Regions from separate parts of the Homo sapiens genome. Here region 2 is linked to region 1. The links are contacts of gene promoters, found by promoter capture Hi-C in human tissues and cell types (Jung and others, 2019). All regions are on one chromosome and are shown on one strand. The core of a region is centred on a gene start or on the middle of the fragment in contact, and the rest is flanking DNA. Distances in the headings are between cores, read along the strand shown.

Region 1 (7,497 bases), core at 1,882-4,381:
CTAATCCCAGCTACTGAGGAGACTGAGGTAGGAGAATCGCTTGAACCCAGGAGACGGAGCTTGCAGTGAGCTGAGATCGCGCCACTGCACTCCAGCCTGAGTGACAGTGAGACTCTGTCTCAGAAAAAAAAAAAAATAATAATAATAAATAAAATAAGAAGTATGGGCCCAGAGGTTAGAAAGCCTAGGTTCAGGTCAGACATAGCTCACTGCAGCCCCACCCTCCTGTGCTCAAGCGATCCTCCCATTTCAGCCTCCCGAGTAGCTGGAACTACAGGTGTGAGCCACTATGCCTGGCTAATTTTATTTTTTGGTAGAGACAGGGTCTTGCTATGTGCCCAGGCTGGTCTTGAACTCCTGGACTCAAGCAATCCTCTCGCCTCGACCTCCCAAAGCACTGGGATTACAGCAATGAGCCACCATGCCCAGCCTAAAGTATTTTAGAGTCTGGTTATATTAGAAGGTTGCGATTGGAAAAGTCTTACAAGTGATGGCAGATTGAACAGATTAAAAACTAGGCCCAGTAGGTCAGGAGCGGTGGCTCACGCCTGTAATCCCAGCACTTTGGGAGGCCAAGGTGGGTGGATCCCCTCAGGTCAGGAGTTCGAGACCAGCCTGACGTGGTGAACCCTATCTCTGCCGAAAATATAAAAATTAGCTGGGCGTGACAGCGTGCCCCTGTAATCCCAGCTACTTGGGAGGCTGAGGCAGGAGAATCACTTGAACGTGGGAGGCAGAGGTTGCAGTGAGCCAAGATCGCGCCATTGCACTCCAGCCTGAGCGACAGAGCAAGACTCCATCTCAAAACAACAACAACAACAACAAACAAAAAACTAGGCCCAGCAAGGGGAGAGACTTGCTGGGGTCCTGCAGCAGTGCAGTGGGTGAGACTGGCCAGCTTGGGCTGGGCTGGCTTTGAACTCAGGTCCATGTAACGCATTGATGATTGTCCTGACCAGCACCTTTTGTGAAACTAGTGCAGGGGGCCTTTATCATTCTGCATCTGGCAAGCCCTGCCACTCCTTCTTACAAGCATGGTGTTTATGTAATTTTCTTTTTTGTGGAATGGGGTCTTCATGTTGCCCAGGCTGGAGTGCGATGGCACAGTGGAGTGCAAATGCACAATCACTGCAACCTCCAACTCCTGGGCTCAAGTGATCCTCCTACCTCAGCCTCTCAATTAACTAGCACTACTGGTGCACACCACCATACCTGTCTAATTTTTTGTATTTTTTTGTAGAGATGGAGTCTCCCTATGTTGCCAGGCTGGTCTAGAACTCCTGGCCTCAAGCAATCCTCCAGCCTTGGCCTCCCAAAGTGTTGGGATTGCAGGCGTAAGCCTCCATGCCCTGCCTTACGTGCATTAATTACAATACACAGAATTACAAAACAAAAAGCAATGATATTGAAATGGCATCAAAATGCTTTAAAAACAAATTTCTGCTATACTAGTATAGATGCTTATTTTCAATGCATGAAATAACAAGACCCTATCATAATTTCTTTTCTTTTCTTTTTTTTTTTTTGAGACAGTCTCTCACTCTGTCCTCAGGCGTGACCTCGGCTCACTGCAATTTCCGCCTCCCGGATTCAAGCGATTCTCCTGCCTCAGCCTCCCCTGGAGCTGGGACTACAGACGCATGCCACCAAGCCCAGCTAATTTTTGTATTTTTAGTAGAGACAGGGTTTCACCATGTTGGCCAGGATGGTCTGGATCTTTTGACCTTGTGATCCGCCCGCCTCGGCCTCCCGAAGTGCTGGGATTACAGCCGTGAGCCACCGCGCCCGGCCGACTCTATCATAATTTCAAAGCAGTAATAAATGTAAGTGACAGCTTAAGATACCACCTTGTAGTTGCTGCACAAACTGGGTTTTTTTGCGTCTCACTCTGTCACCAGGCTGGAGTGGGGTGGTACAATCTCGGCTCAATGCAACCTCTGCCTCCCGGGTTTAAGCCATGCTCATGCCTCAGCCTCCCAAGTAGCTGGGATTACAGGAACGCGCCACTACTCCAGGCCAATTTTTATATTTTCAGTAGGGACGGGGTTTTGCCATCCTGTCCAGGCTGGTCTCGAACTCCTGACCTCACGTGATCCTCTCGCCTCAGACTCCCAAAGTGCTGAGGTTACAGGTGTGAGCCACCATGCCTGGCCCTGCACAAACTGTTATCTGGAACTATCATTTACACTCACCCTCACAGTTTCAGGCACTGCTAAGGCTGCTCCAGCAATCAGGAAAGGAAATGCTATACTTCACATAGAGAAAAATAGGGGTGCATTTTGTTCCTACACAAGCTCATTACCCCACCCTGGTTAAAAAAAACCCTGAATTAGGCTGTATAGTGGCTCATGCCTGCAATTCCAGCACTTTGGGAGGCCCAGGCAGGAGGATCGCTTTGGGCTTGGGGCCAGGAGTTCGAGACCAGCCTGGGCAACATAGCAAGACCCGCCACCCGCCCCCCCAACCCCGCCGTCTCTACAAAAATTAAAAATAAAATTTTAAAAATTAGCCAAGTGTGGTGGTGCAGCGTCTGTAGTTCCAGCTACTCGGGAGGCTGAGGTGGGAGGATCGCTTGAGTCTGAGAAGTTGACTGCAGTGAGCTATGATCGTACCCCTGTACTCCAGCCTGGGCCACAGAGCGAGAAAAAACCCTGAATTAGAGACACGCTGCGGCCGTCCTTCCTCGGAGAGACCCGCCCCTCCTCAGAGGCCCACCCGGACCCTCAGGCCAACGCCGACCCCTCTCCACACGGACTTCTGCAGCCTCAGTTTCCCTCCTCAGACGCCCCCGGCTCCAATCCCGGCTCGGGCACTTCCTTCCCCTCTGGCGTGTCTTGGCCCGGGTCCCGGGGCTCCTGCGAGGATCACACAGGAACTCACTTGAAGTGTCCGGCGCAGTGCACTCCGACGGGGAGCCCTGCCCGGTCCCCGCGGCGAACCAGTCTCTTCCTCGGGTCCCCCTCTCCCCAAGCGCGCAGGCGCAATCCGCGTCGCCGACTCACGCGGCTGGTTTCAGGTTTCTGGCGAGGCCGGTGTTCGGCTGGCGGCTAGCTGGGACTAGCGGAACGGCGGAGTCTCGATTGGCAGTGCCTGGACAGGCGCAAGGGCCGGCGCGGGCTCCGGGCGCTCCCGGCATCCCTCGGGCGGCGGCGGCGGCGGCGGCGAGGCGAAGCGAAGGAGGAGTGTGTGCGGCGGGGCCGGCGGCGGGTAAAGGCGAGAAGGCTGCAGGAGACCGAGGGGGAGCCGGGCCGGTGGGGCCGCCGCCGCCGCCATGCAGGAAATCATCGCCAGCGTGGACCACATCAAGTTTGACTTGGAGATCGCGGTGGAGCAGCAGCTGGGGGCGCAGCCGCTGCCCTTCCCCGGCATGGACAGTGAGCGCGGGGCCCGGGCGGGAGGGCAAGAGCGACTCGAACCCGGGACCCGCTCCTCTGTGATCCCGGGACTCCCTCGCCTCGGTCCTGAGACCTCCCCCGGCTTCCTCTGGATCCTGGGACCCCTCCCCTTTGGTCGCAGGACTCCTCCCTCTAGGTCTTGAGAGTCCCTCCCACCTCCTCCGGGTCCTGGGATCCTCCCCTTTAGTTACCGAACTCCCTCATCTGTGGTCCCGAGACTCTTCCCACTCCATCCTGAGACCTCCTCTTCTGGATCCCGGGACGCTCCCCTTGGTTTCAGGACTCCTGACTCCCAGGCCCCCATTTCCACCGTCTGGGGACTCCTTTTACCCTCACTCGGACTCAGGAGTTCACTGCCTCGGATCTTTGGCCCTCTGCGGCTGTTCAAAGGTAATCTGTAGGAGGGTAGACCTTGTCTGTTCGCTTAATTCTTGAATAAGGGTGGGTTATCCTGGATTGGAACTCTCCCTCAACACTCTCCCAACTGCAGGAGAGTACTAGGATATCACACCCGCTACGTTGAGCGTCTCTTCTTGATTTCATCAAAACTAGGCGGTTGGAGGAGATGTGCTGAGGGAAGGACCACCTTTCTGTAGGAGACCCCAGCTAGACTCTCAAACTCCCTTCTAGGACTCACTCTCCTGGGAGCTCATCCCTAGTTTTTGGCCCGTCCCTACTTTTTTCTGGACCCCAACTCTGAGTTATTCATCACACCCAGCAGCTGGTGTGGACCCTTGGCCTGAACTCCCTTCACTGCTCCCCTTCATATGGTGGCTCCTGGCTTCCCACCTCCTACTCGGTGGGATATCTTGTACTTTAAAAGAAACCAGTAGTTTTCTTTGTGTCTTCTTTCCTATCTGGACATACTTGAAATCTAATGCTATAACCTTAAAGTTTGGGGGCTTGTGGAAGTCACTGAGTTCAATCCACAGATGGGGAAACTGAGACCCAAGCGGGGGAAGGGACTTGCTGACAATCACTCAGTGCATAGCAGAGGCGGGCAAGCTCTCCAGTGTTGTGTGCTGTCGCCCACAACTACCAGCGGGGTCTCCCACCGCTCCCAGCAGCCTCACTCCCCTCAGGCGGTCACACCTTCTCATGCACATGTGACCTCTGAGTCTGTCCCTTTATGTGTTTTTGTTGTTGTTGTTTGTTTGCTTTTGAGACAGGGGCCCCTCTGTCGCCCAGGCTGGGTGCAGTGACGCAATCATGGCTCAATGCAGCCTCGACTTCCCAGGCTCCAGCAATCCTCCCACCTCAGTCTCCCAAGTAGCTGGGACCACAGGCATGCACCAACACGCCTGGCAAATTTTTTTGTGTGTATTTCTTGGTAGAGACACTATTTCATCATGTTTCCCAGGGTTGGTCTTGAACTCCTGGGCTCAAGTGATCCTTTTACCTCGGCCTTCGGAAGTACTGGGATTATAGGCATGAGCCACTGCACCTGGCATATATATATATATATATATTTTTTTTTTTTTTTTTTTCCTGCCTGTCCCACAACTTTACATGGTGATAGTTCTGTACAAGATAGTTTCATTGGAAATTAATTAAGTCTTCAAGAAGACAAGATAGTGCTTATAAGGAGACATCATCAGACCACCCTATTTGACACAGGCACAAACACCATCACCACTGTACACTCCCTAAAAAGCAGCTGCTCAAATTCACACACACACACCCCCTCTTACCTACCCCTCGACTCTTGTGATCATCCCTGCACATGTGGCCTTTTCCTGTCTTTTTTTTTTTTTTTTTTTTGAGACAGAGTTTTGCTTTTGTCACCCAGGCTGGAGTGCAATGGTGCGATCTCGGCTCACTGCAACCTCCACCTCCCAGGTTCAAGCAGTTCTGCTGCCTTGGCCTCCTGAGTAGCTGGGATTATAGGCGCCCACCACCACGCCCAACTAATTTTTGTATTTTTAGTAGAGATGAGGTTTCACCATGTTGGCCAGGCTGGTCTTGAACTCCTGACCTTAAATGATCCACCTGCCTCGGCCTCCCAAAGTGCTGGGATTACGGGCATAAGCCACTGTGCCCAGCCGGCCTTTTCCTGTCTTGATGGCACTAGCTTGAGACCATGGAACCACCCACGCAGGGCAGCTCTTTTCCTCCCACCCTTCTGCCATCTGACACATCCACAAGCCTGTGAGGGGAGGTACAGTGGCGAGGGGCCCACATACCTGTTCCTGAGGCCCGGGACACACCTAGCCATGGGTGTTGCTCCAGCCAGGGCTTCAGAGTCGGTAGGCACCCTCCACACTCGCTGCTTGTCCATATCCTGTTCAGTTAAAGCCTAGTGAGGCCACAGCCCTTCCTCACCCATCCCTCCTCTTCATCCCCATCTGAGTTTTGGGAAGAACTGTCACTTTGCCCATAAGGCATACTCATCCTATCCACATGAGACTCAGTTCCCAGAACTGTGTATTTCTGAGCAGAAGCAACTCTAACCTCTAAAGAGAGAGACCAGAAGTACTTTCAGAATTTTTTTTTTCTTTTTTTTTGAGACAGAGTCTTGCTCTGTTACCCAGGCTGGAGCACAGTGACGCGATCTTGGCTCACTGCAACCTCTGCCTCTGGGTTCAAGTGATTCTCCTGCCTCAGCCTCCCAGGTAGCTGGGATTACAGGCACGTGCCACCATGTCTGACTAATTTTTGCATTTTTAGTAGAGATGGGGTTTCACCATATTGGCCAGGCTGGTCTTGAACTCCTGATGTCAAGTGATCCACCCGCCTCAGCCTCCCAAAGTGCTAGGATTACAGACGTGAGTCACCGCACCTGGCCACTTTCAGACTTTTTGAGATGCAAATGGAGTGACCTCCCTGTGACAGCCATAAGTTCTATAACCTCAGCTGTGTCCTAGCAAAATCTGCTTGCTTCCAAGAAGCCAAGGAATCTTTTGTGATTTAGCAAGGGGAGGCATGTTAAGTGGGCTTCAGAGATGCTGTCATTGGTTTTTCAGCAATTCTAAAATGGTTACTTGTAGAGGAAACTGTTTCTGATGCCAAGGTCAGTTTAGTCTGGCAGCTGGGGCTGGTGAATTCCTGGACTCATCAGAACAGCTGGTCCCTGGAGCCCACTGAATTCCAGCACACTCCGACTGTGGGAATGAAAGGCTGTGCTTTTTTTTTCTTTTCTTTTCTTTTTTATTAACAAGCAACATAATCGGCCGGGCGTTGTGGCTCACACCTGTAATCCCAGCACTTTGGGAGGCCGAGGCGGGCGGATCACGAGGTCAGGAGATCGAGACCATCCTGGCTAACACGGTGAAACCCCGTCTCTACTAAAAATACAAAAAATTAGCTGGGCAAGGTGGCGGGTGCCTGTAGTCCCAGCTACTCGGGAGGCTGAGGCAGGAGAATGGTGTGAACCCCGGTGGGGCAGAGCCTGCAGTGAGCCGAGATCACACCACTGCACTCCAGCCTGGGCAACAGCGAGACTCCGTCTCAAAAAAAAAAAAAAAAAAAACAAAAAACAAGCAATATAATCAAAAACAAAAACACAACAACCTTAAAGCTGAAACAGCAATAAGTCAAACTGCCGCGGCAGTTCACAGTTTTACCTGGGGTACCTGCTCCCTCATTGCAAGGCAAGACTGCATTTAGTATATATGTGACCAAGAAGAATGAGAGAAGTGGAAAACACTGGAGAACAGAAAGTATCAAGAACCTTTCATCAGGCAATGCCAAAGCGCTCTGCTCTTTTCCTCTTCTTTGCCTCTGTATCCTCTGTGGTTCCAGTTCCAGCTGAACTTGTGACAATCCCAAATCGCTCCTTCCTCTTTTTCAGTTTCTTATCATCTTCAGACTTTCTGGAAATTGAAGAGACATTCAAACCAAATCTTTGAGCTCTTTCCTTCGGCTTATCCAAGTTAACCATAGGTGTGTTCAGATGACAGACTTTTGTTGGAACTGAAGAAATCCCAAACCTAGCTGCCTGAGCAGCTTTCTTACTCTCCAAGCTCACAGGTACACTGAATTGTTCGGCCCTCTTCTGCATTCTCTCAGCCTGTGGTATTTCAGATGTAATTTTCACCACTTTCTTCTCTGCTGCCACATCAACAGTTTTTTTCAGGGGGTTCTTCCTATTTGACAAGGGGTT
Region 2 (7,497 bases), core at 3,144-5,643, 540 kb after region 1:
TCCCCTGGGATTGGGACTATTTCCATCCTGCTGATCCCTTGCCACTCACACTGGGGGGGCTGCCTCTTGGGTTAGACCTTCCACCCCTGTGGTCTGTTATTCACTGACCGTTACTGTCGTTGTAATACTCCACGATGTCTTTCAGGGTCTCCATAAAGATGTCCTCCCTGGCCTTCTGAAGTTGGCTGTCCTGCTTCCAATCCTCCATTCCTTCCACCTGTCTCCAGAGTCCCATGGGCTGAGACTTCCTGTCTTTACTGTTGTATCTAAAGAACTGGAGGTCATTGAGTGAGCCAAGGGCCTGAAACGCGGGGACGTCTTCAACATGCTTGGACAGCCCAGTGTAGATATAGGTCAGAGAGTAACGACCTGCAAAAGAAAAGATTCTGATGGTTGAGGTCCATGCAAGGGTCCCACTGTGGGGCTGCATAGGGCTAGGAGGGGAGACCTGCCACTGGCCTTTTCTTCCCCAGCTCTTTCTCCTGCCATCAACTTCACACCACTGGAGGCTCACTCAAGTGAATATGCTCTACTTTCATGCCTGAGATGATATTTCAGAGACCATCCTGTGTCTTCACTACATTATTTCCTCTGCTTGACACATAGGAAGATAACATTACTCAGCCACCTCGAAGATATATTGGGACCATGTGACTGAGTTTTGTCAAAAGAGAATGTGAGCAGAAGTGATGTCTTTCTTCTTGTCCAAGACCCTACCAGCTGGCTTGTCCCTTTTGTTTCTCATCCCTAGAGGTGACGACTTTGAAGGCCACAGGATAATATGAAAGAGTCTCAATATGCAATTGGCCTGGATCCCTGAGTCACCCCATGGAGGAATGGAACCTTGCCCAGTGTGCATGGAATCTGACATGCGTTAGAAATTAACATTTCTAGGCTGGGCTCCGTGGCTCATGCCTGTAATCCCAGGACTTTGGGAGGCCAAGGCAGGCAGATTACTTGAGATCAGGAGTTGAAGACCAGCCTGGCCAACATGGTGAAACCCCATCTCTATTAAAAAATACAAAAATTAGCTGGGCATGGTGGTGCGGGCCTGTAATCCCAGTCATGCTGGAGGCTGAGGCAGGAAAATCACTTGAACCAGAGAGGCAGAGGTTGCAACAAGCCAAGATCATGCCACTGCACTCCAGCTTGGATGACAGAGTGAGACTCCGTCTCAAAAAAAACAAATTAACATTTCGTCCGGGCTCAGTGGCTCACGCCTGTAATCCCAGCACTTTAGGGGGCCGAGGCGGGTGGATCACGAGGTCAGGAGATCGAGACCATCCTGGCTAACATGGTGAAACCCCGTCTCTACTAAGAATTCAAAAAATTAGCCAAGCATGGTGGCGGGTGCCTGTAGTCCCAGCTACTCAGGAGGCTGAGGCAGGAGAATGGCATGAACCCGGGAGGCGGAGCTTGCAGTGAGCTGAGATCATGCCACTGCACTTCAGCCTAGGTGACAAAGCAAGGCTCCATCTCAAAAAAAAAAAAATTAACACTTCTAGCTTAACCTGACAAATACATATAGTTAGAAAGGGTAGAAAGGAGAATTTACCAGAAAATTCAAGAAATGACCCAGACTGAATTAGCACAGGGTAAGACTAGGATGGAGCTCAGAATTCCCGGGGTTGTACCTTGCATTTTGGTACAAGGTGGGATCTGGGAGAGAGGGACATTTCCATAATAGTTCCATAATTATTTTATGATACAATTTACACAGGTGCTAATGATGTTGGAGGTCATATGGCAGAATCCTAGTTCAATTACTAAAATTATTCTTGCTCCTGAGTGTCTAAATGTGATTAGCCTTTAAATCAGTAGACCCTACAATTGAATTCATGGACATAGAGAGTAGAAGGATGGTTACCAAAGGCTGGGAAGGGTAGTGGCAGGGTTGGGGGGAAATTGGGAGGGTGGTTAATGGGTACAAAAAAAATAGTTAGAAAACTATTTGATAGCACAACAAAGTGACTCCAGTGAATAATAATTTAACTGGGGCCAGGTGTGGTGGCTCATGCCTGTAATTCCAACACTTTGGGAAGCTGAGGCAGGTGGGTCACTTGAGGTCAGGAGTTCGAAACCAGCCTGGCCAACATGGTGAAACCCCATCTCTACTAAAAATACATAAATTAGCCGGGCGTGGTGGCACACACCTGTAGTCCCAGCGACTCAGAAGGCTGAGGCAGGAGAATCGCTTAAGCCCGGGAGGCAGAGGTTGCAGTGAGCCAAGATTGCACCACTGCATTCCAGCCTGGGCAACTCTGTCACAAAAAAAAAAAAAAAAAGAAGAATGAATAAGACCTACTATTTGATAGCACAACAGGGTGACTATAGTCAATAATAATTTAACTGGGGCCAGGTGTGGTGGCTCGTGCCTGTAATTCCAGCACTCTGGGAGGCTGAAGTGAGTGGATCACTTGAGGTCAAGAGGTCAAGACCAGTCTAGCCAACATGGTGAAACCCTATCTCTATTAAAAATACATAAGTTAGCCGTGTGTGGCAGTGTACACCCGAGGCAAGATAATTGCTTGAACCCAACAGGCGGAGGTTTGCAGTAAGCCAAGATCACGCCACTGCACTCCAGCCTGGGTGACAGAACAAGAATCCATCTCAAAAATAATAATAATAATCATAATTTAATTGTACACTTTTAAATAACCAAAAGAGAGGCCAGGCGCAGTTGCTGACACCTGTAATCCCGGCACTTTGGGAGACCAAGGCGGGCAGATCACGAGGTCAGGATATCAAGACTAGCCTGGCCAACATGATGAAACCCGTCTCTACTAAAAATACAAAAAAATTAGCCAGGTGTGGTGGCAGGTGCCTGTAGTCCTAGCTACTCAGGAGACTGAGGCAGGAAAATTGCTTGAACCTGGGAGGCGGAGGTTGCAGTGAGCCGAGATCATGCCACTGCACTCCTGCCTGGGTGACAGAGTGAGACTCTGTCTCAAAAATAAATAAATAAATAAATAATCAAATACTTTTAAAAACTAAAATAACCAAAAAAGTATAATTGGATTGTCTGTAACACAAACGATAAAAGCTTGAAGGGATGGATACCTCATTTTTGATGATGTGATTATTTCACATTGCATGCCTGAATCAAAACCTCTCATGTACCCCATAAATATATACACATACTATGCACCCACAGTTTTTTTTTTAATTTACAAAAAAATCAGTAGACCTTGAGTAAAGTGGATTACTCTCCATAGTGGTGGGCTTCATCCAATCAGTTGAAGGCCTTAAGAGAAAAAGCCTCAGATGTCCCCTAAAGAGGAAAGAATTCTGCCTACAGTCTGCCCTTGGAATCAAGACTAAGACATCAACTCTTCCCTGGGTCTCCAGCCTGCTGGCCGGCTCTGAAGATTTAGGACTTGTTACTCCTCCCAATAGTGTGAGTCAATTTCTTAAAATAAATCTCTACTCTCTCTCTCTTTTGTATACATATATGTAAATCTCTTCCTATGTGTGTGTGTATCCATGTGTATACAGTGTATGTATGTATGTGTACGTACATATATATGTATATGTGTACCACCTATTAGTTCTGTTTCTCTGGAGAACCCTGAGTAATTCAGATTTTGGCACAGAATCAGATTAACATTCCAAAGTGATTGTTATATAACAAACATATAACACCTTTTCTGACAATTTGTAAATGTCATGAATTTTAAACTCACACAACTGAGAAGCCATTCGCTTCCATGTCTTTATCCTGCACATTCTCATGCCACAAACAGCCTCCTTCCCTTATCCTAGGAGTGACTCTTGATCTCCCGGAGCTCCCACTCTCTTCTCTTCCAGCCACTCGCCTTCCAGACCCACTGCAGTGGTGTCTGAGTGTGGGATTTGGGCACGGGTTTCCTTCTAGCACCATCCCTCCAGCCAACCTGCCTTCCCACTTTCCCCTTGGGGCTGCTCTCTCTTTCCCTCAGCGTCAGGCAGGTGTACCCAGCCATCGGAAGGAGGGAAGGAACAGGAGCAGAAGCAGCTCCAGGCATATGGTTCCTACTCCGTCCTGACTGTCTACCCCAAGCAGGTCGCTTGGTCTTTGGAGTCTTTGTTTTCACTGTAAACTAGGGGTTTTAGATTCAGATTCCTGAAGGTCTTATTTCGGGCCAGCGCAGAGGCTCCCTGAATGCTCCTGGAAGTGTGTGAGCTGAGGGAGTTGACAGCCTTGGGCACCCATTCCTGCCGTATGCCAGGGTATCCCAGCTGCATCCAGCCTGTCTCCCAGCCACATGTCCTGTTCCTCACCTCCTTCCAGTCCTCTCCAGCACCCATCCCTTGCTTTCCCCACTCACCATCTTGGTTCTCCTGGGGGACAGCAGGACCCAGAAGCAGCAGCAGAGACAGCAGGACAGGCACCATTCTTACCATTGTGTCTGCTTGGAGGGTTCTGGGCAGGAGGCACAGATATTATCCTGGGTCCTGGGGCCCTGCCCAGGGGAGGTGAATCTACAGGCCAATGGGAGTGCCAGGACGGGCTCCTCCCCTAATAGAGAAAAAAAAATGATACACAAGCTAGGCTGGGCAGAGGTTATGAAGAATGAATCTACACACAGGATATGCAAATTCAGAGCTGAGTCCAGAGTTGATCTCTGGACTGAGGCTTTGTGTGTGCCTGGGGTGGAAGGATGCCAGTGGGTAGGAGGTGCGTGTGATGGGTGGCAAGCGCCTGGGATGTGTCACCCTTCCAGTCTATTGTGACAACCCCTGGGCCAGTAGGGGCATTTGTGTGTTTTTGGACCACACTGTATCCCTGCCTTCCAGAAAAACTCTCAACATGTCCAAGACATGGACCTGGGTAGACCCCAGCTGGGGTGGGACCCTCACTCTCCCACATCCGATCCTGCCAGAGGCTGTGTCTGGAGGACAGTCACATTCCCATCTCTCCCTCCTTCCTTTCTGTGCCTGTGGAATCCCAGCCTTCCATGATGGAAGCAGAAATAGCCGCATCCTCCTTTTGCAGCCTCCCTGGCAACAGAACGAGCCTCCCAAAATGCTGGGATTAAAGGCGTGAGCCACCACGCCCAGCCAAGATAATTTTTAATGCATACAACAAGACTCGTTTTACACAGACGAAGCCAGTTATTTGAAAACCAGGTCTTTCCAGGCACGCTCAGTGTTGATGGGCTATTTGCAGAGAGACCCTCCGAATACAAAGCAACATGCTATTCTAAAGTGACTGGGGCCCGGGTGCGGTGACTCATGCTTGTAATCCCAGCACTTTGGGAGGCTGAGGTGGTTGGATCACCTCAGGTTGAGGTCAGGTACTCGAGACCAGCCTGGGCAACATGATGAAACCTCGTCTCTACTGAAAAAATACAAGAATTAGCTGCGCGTGGTGGCACATGCCTATAATCCCAGCACTCAGGAAGCTGAGGCAGGGGTTTCACCATGTTGGCCAAGCTGGTTTTGAACTCCTGACCTCGTGATCTGCCCGCCTCGGTCTCCCAAAGTGCTGGGTTTACTAGTGTGAGCAACTGTGCCCAGCCTCTCTTTTGGTTAAAGAAACCTACAAAGGGACCTTTTATAGTGACTTCAATTTTATGGAATAATTGTAATGCTCCTAAGGCCGTTGTGCTCCAAAGTCTAGCCGCAGGTATTGTTATTGATTGGGCTCCAAAAGGGCATTATTGGCAAGATTGCTCCAGCAAAAATACCTCATGCTCAGAGTTTAATTATTTGTTAGATTATGTAGAGGATGGATGGCAGTCATACAGGCTGAGACAATGGGTGTCCCCTTACCTATTTAAATGGATGGATGCAGGCATTACTCCTCCTAGACCAAAAATGATTCATCCCTTTGTTACCCCAGAACATCCTCAACTATGAAAATTAGCTGCAGCTATGACAGGAATAAGGATATGGAACACTACCTATCAACTCCTTCACACTAATACCAAAACACCCACATTCAACATCACCCTCATATCTGAACGGGTGATACCCATCAGGAGCTATGTCAAACCCCCTTACATGCTGTTGGTTGGAAATATAATTATCATTCCCAATACACAAACTATAGAATGTGATAACTGTAAGCTGTTCACGTGCATTGATGCTACTTTTAATCCCACTACAAGTACTCTCTTGGTAAGGGCTAGGGAGGGGGTATGGATACCAGTTTCTTTACATCGTCCATGGGAGTCTTCCCCCTCTATTCACATAGTCAATGAAGTTCTTAAAGGTATCCGCAAAAGAACAAAGAGATTTATTTTTACTCTTATTGCCATCATTGCAGGACTAATTGCGGTTACTGCAACAGCAGCAACTGCTGGAGTTGCCATCCACAATTCTGTTCAAACCGTTCAATATGTTGAATTGAAGCATGGCAGAAAAACTCCTCCAGACTTTGGAATTCTCAGGCTCAAATTGATCAAAAATTAGCTAATCAAATTAATGATCTCCGCCAAAGTGTAATCTGGCTGGGAGATATGAATTTGGAACACCGTATGCAATTACAGAGTGATTGGAATACTTCTGATTATTGCATAATGCCTTATGCTTATAATAAATATCAACATAGCTGGGAAAATGTCTCAAGACATTTAAAAGCCTGGGATGATAACTTAACCTTGGATATTTCAAAACTTAAAGAGCAAATTTTCGAGGATTCACAAGCTCATTTATCCACTGTTCCTGGCTCAGACATTTTTGAAGGCATAACTAAACAATTATCTGATCTTAATCCCTTTAAATAGATCAAACCCCTTGGAGGATCATTGTTGTCACTGGCATTATTAATATTGGTATGCTTACGTTGTCTCCTTTTAGCCTGCAGATGCCTCCAAGGAGTCCGAAAACAAATCCGAAGTCAACGACAAGCAATGATGGCGATGGCGATCCTAGTTAATAAAAAGGGGGGAGATGTGGGCGGCAAGCCATCCAGGTGCCAAGCCAAGAGACCGAGGGCATGAGTTGTTCCAGTATAATAAAATATATAAAACAACAAGAGTTATACTAGATCTAGATCATAGATATGATTATATATCAATATCATTAATCATTAGTTTTTTCCAAATTTATTATTCCAATATTATAATATTATAATAATCCTCCAATATTATAATTTATTCCAATATTATAATAATCTTCGCTGCATAATCATAACCTAAGAAAAACCAGGCCATACAGAGATAGGAGCTGAGGGGACATAGTGAGAAGTGACCAGAAGACAAGAGTGCGAGCCTTCTGTTATGCCCAGACAGGGCCACCAGAAGGGCTCCTTGGTCTAGCAGTAACGCCAGTGTCTGGGAAGACGCCCCTTGCCGAGCGGACGGTGGTCTAGCGGTAGCCTCAGTGTCAAGGAAAACACCCGCTACTTAGCTGACCGGGAAAGGGAGTCTCCCTTTCCTTGGGGGAGTTTAGAGAAGACTCTACTCCTCCACCTCTTGTGGAGGGCCTGACATCAGTCAGGCCCGCCCGCAGTTATCCAGAGGCCTAACCGTCTCCCTGTGATGCTGTGCTTCAGTGGTCACGCTCCTAGTC

Evidence for each region. Contacts are between HindIII fragments. The study calls those that stand out against the background at their distance.
Region 2: the fragment with the promoter of AZGP1 here is called in contact with the fragment with the promoter of CPSF4 in region 1 in 1 of the 25 tissues and cell types used here (spleen).

The regions. Positions count from the first base shown.
Region 1 is chr7:99,435,812-99,443,308 of GRCh38, forward strand. It overlaps CPSF4 (cleavage and polyadenylation specific factor 4), which reads left to right and starts at 3,132. Exons shown (of 8, transcript NM_006693.4): 1 at 3,132-3,374. The coding sequence starts at 3,272. The region is part of intron 2 of ATP5MF-PTCD1 (ATP5MF-PTCD1 readthrough); the gene reads right to left. It overlaps PTCD1 (pentatricopeptide repeat domain 1), which reads right to left and starts at 2,987. Exons shown (of 8, transcript NM_015545.4): 1 at 2,881-2,987. It also overlaps the pseudogene LOC100131859. RefSeq lists enhancers at 755-1,280, 2,577-2,866 and a silencer at 3,127-3,426. The HindIII fragment of the contact is 24,338 bases long and covers 1-7,497 here.
Region 2 is chr7:99,971,638-99,979,134 of GRCh38, forward strand. It overlaps AZGP1 (alpha-2-glycoprotein 1, zinc-binding), which reads right to left and starts at 4,394. Exons shown (of 4, transcript NM_001185.4): 1 at 4,308-4,394; 2 at 109-369. The coding sequence starts at 4,383. The HindIII fragment of the contact is 25,198 bases long and covers 1-7,497 here.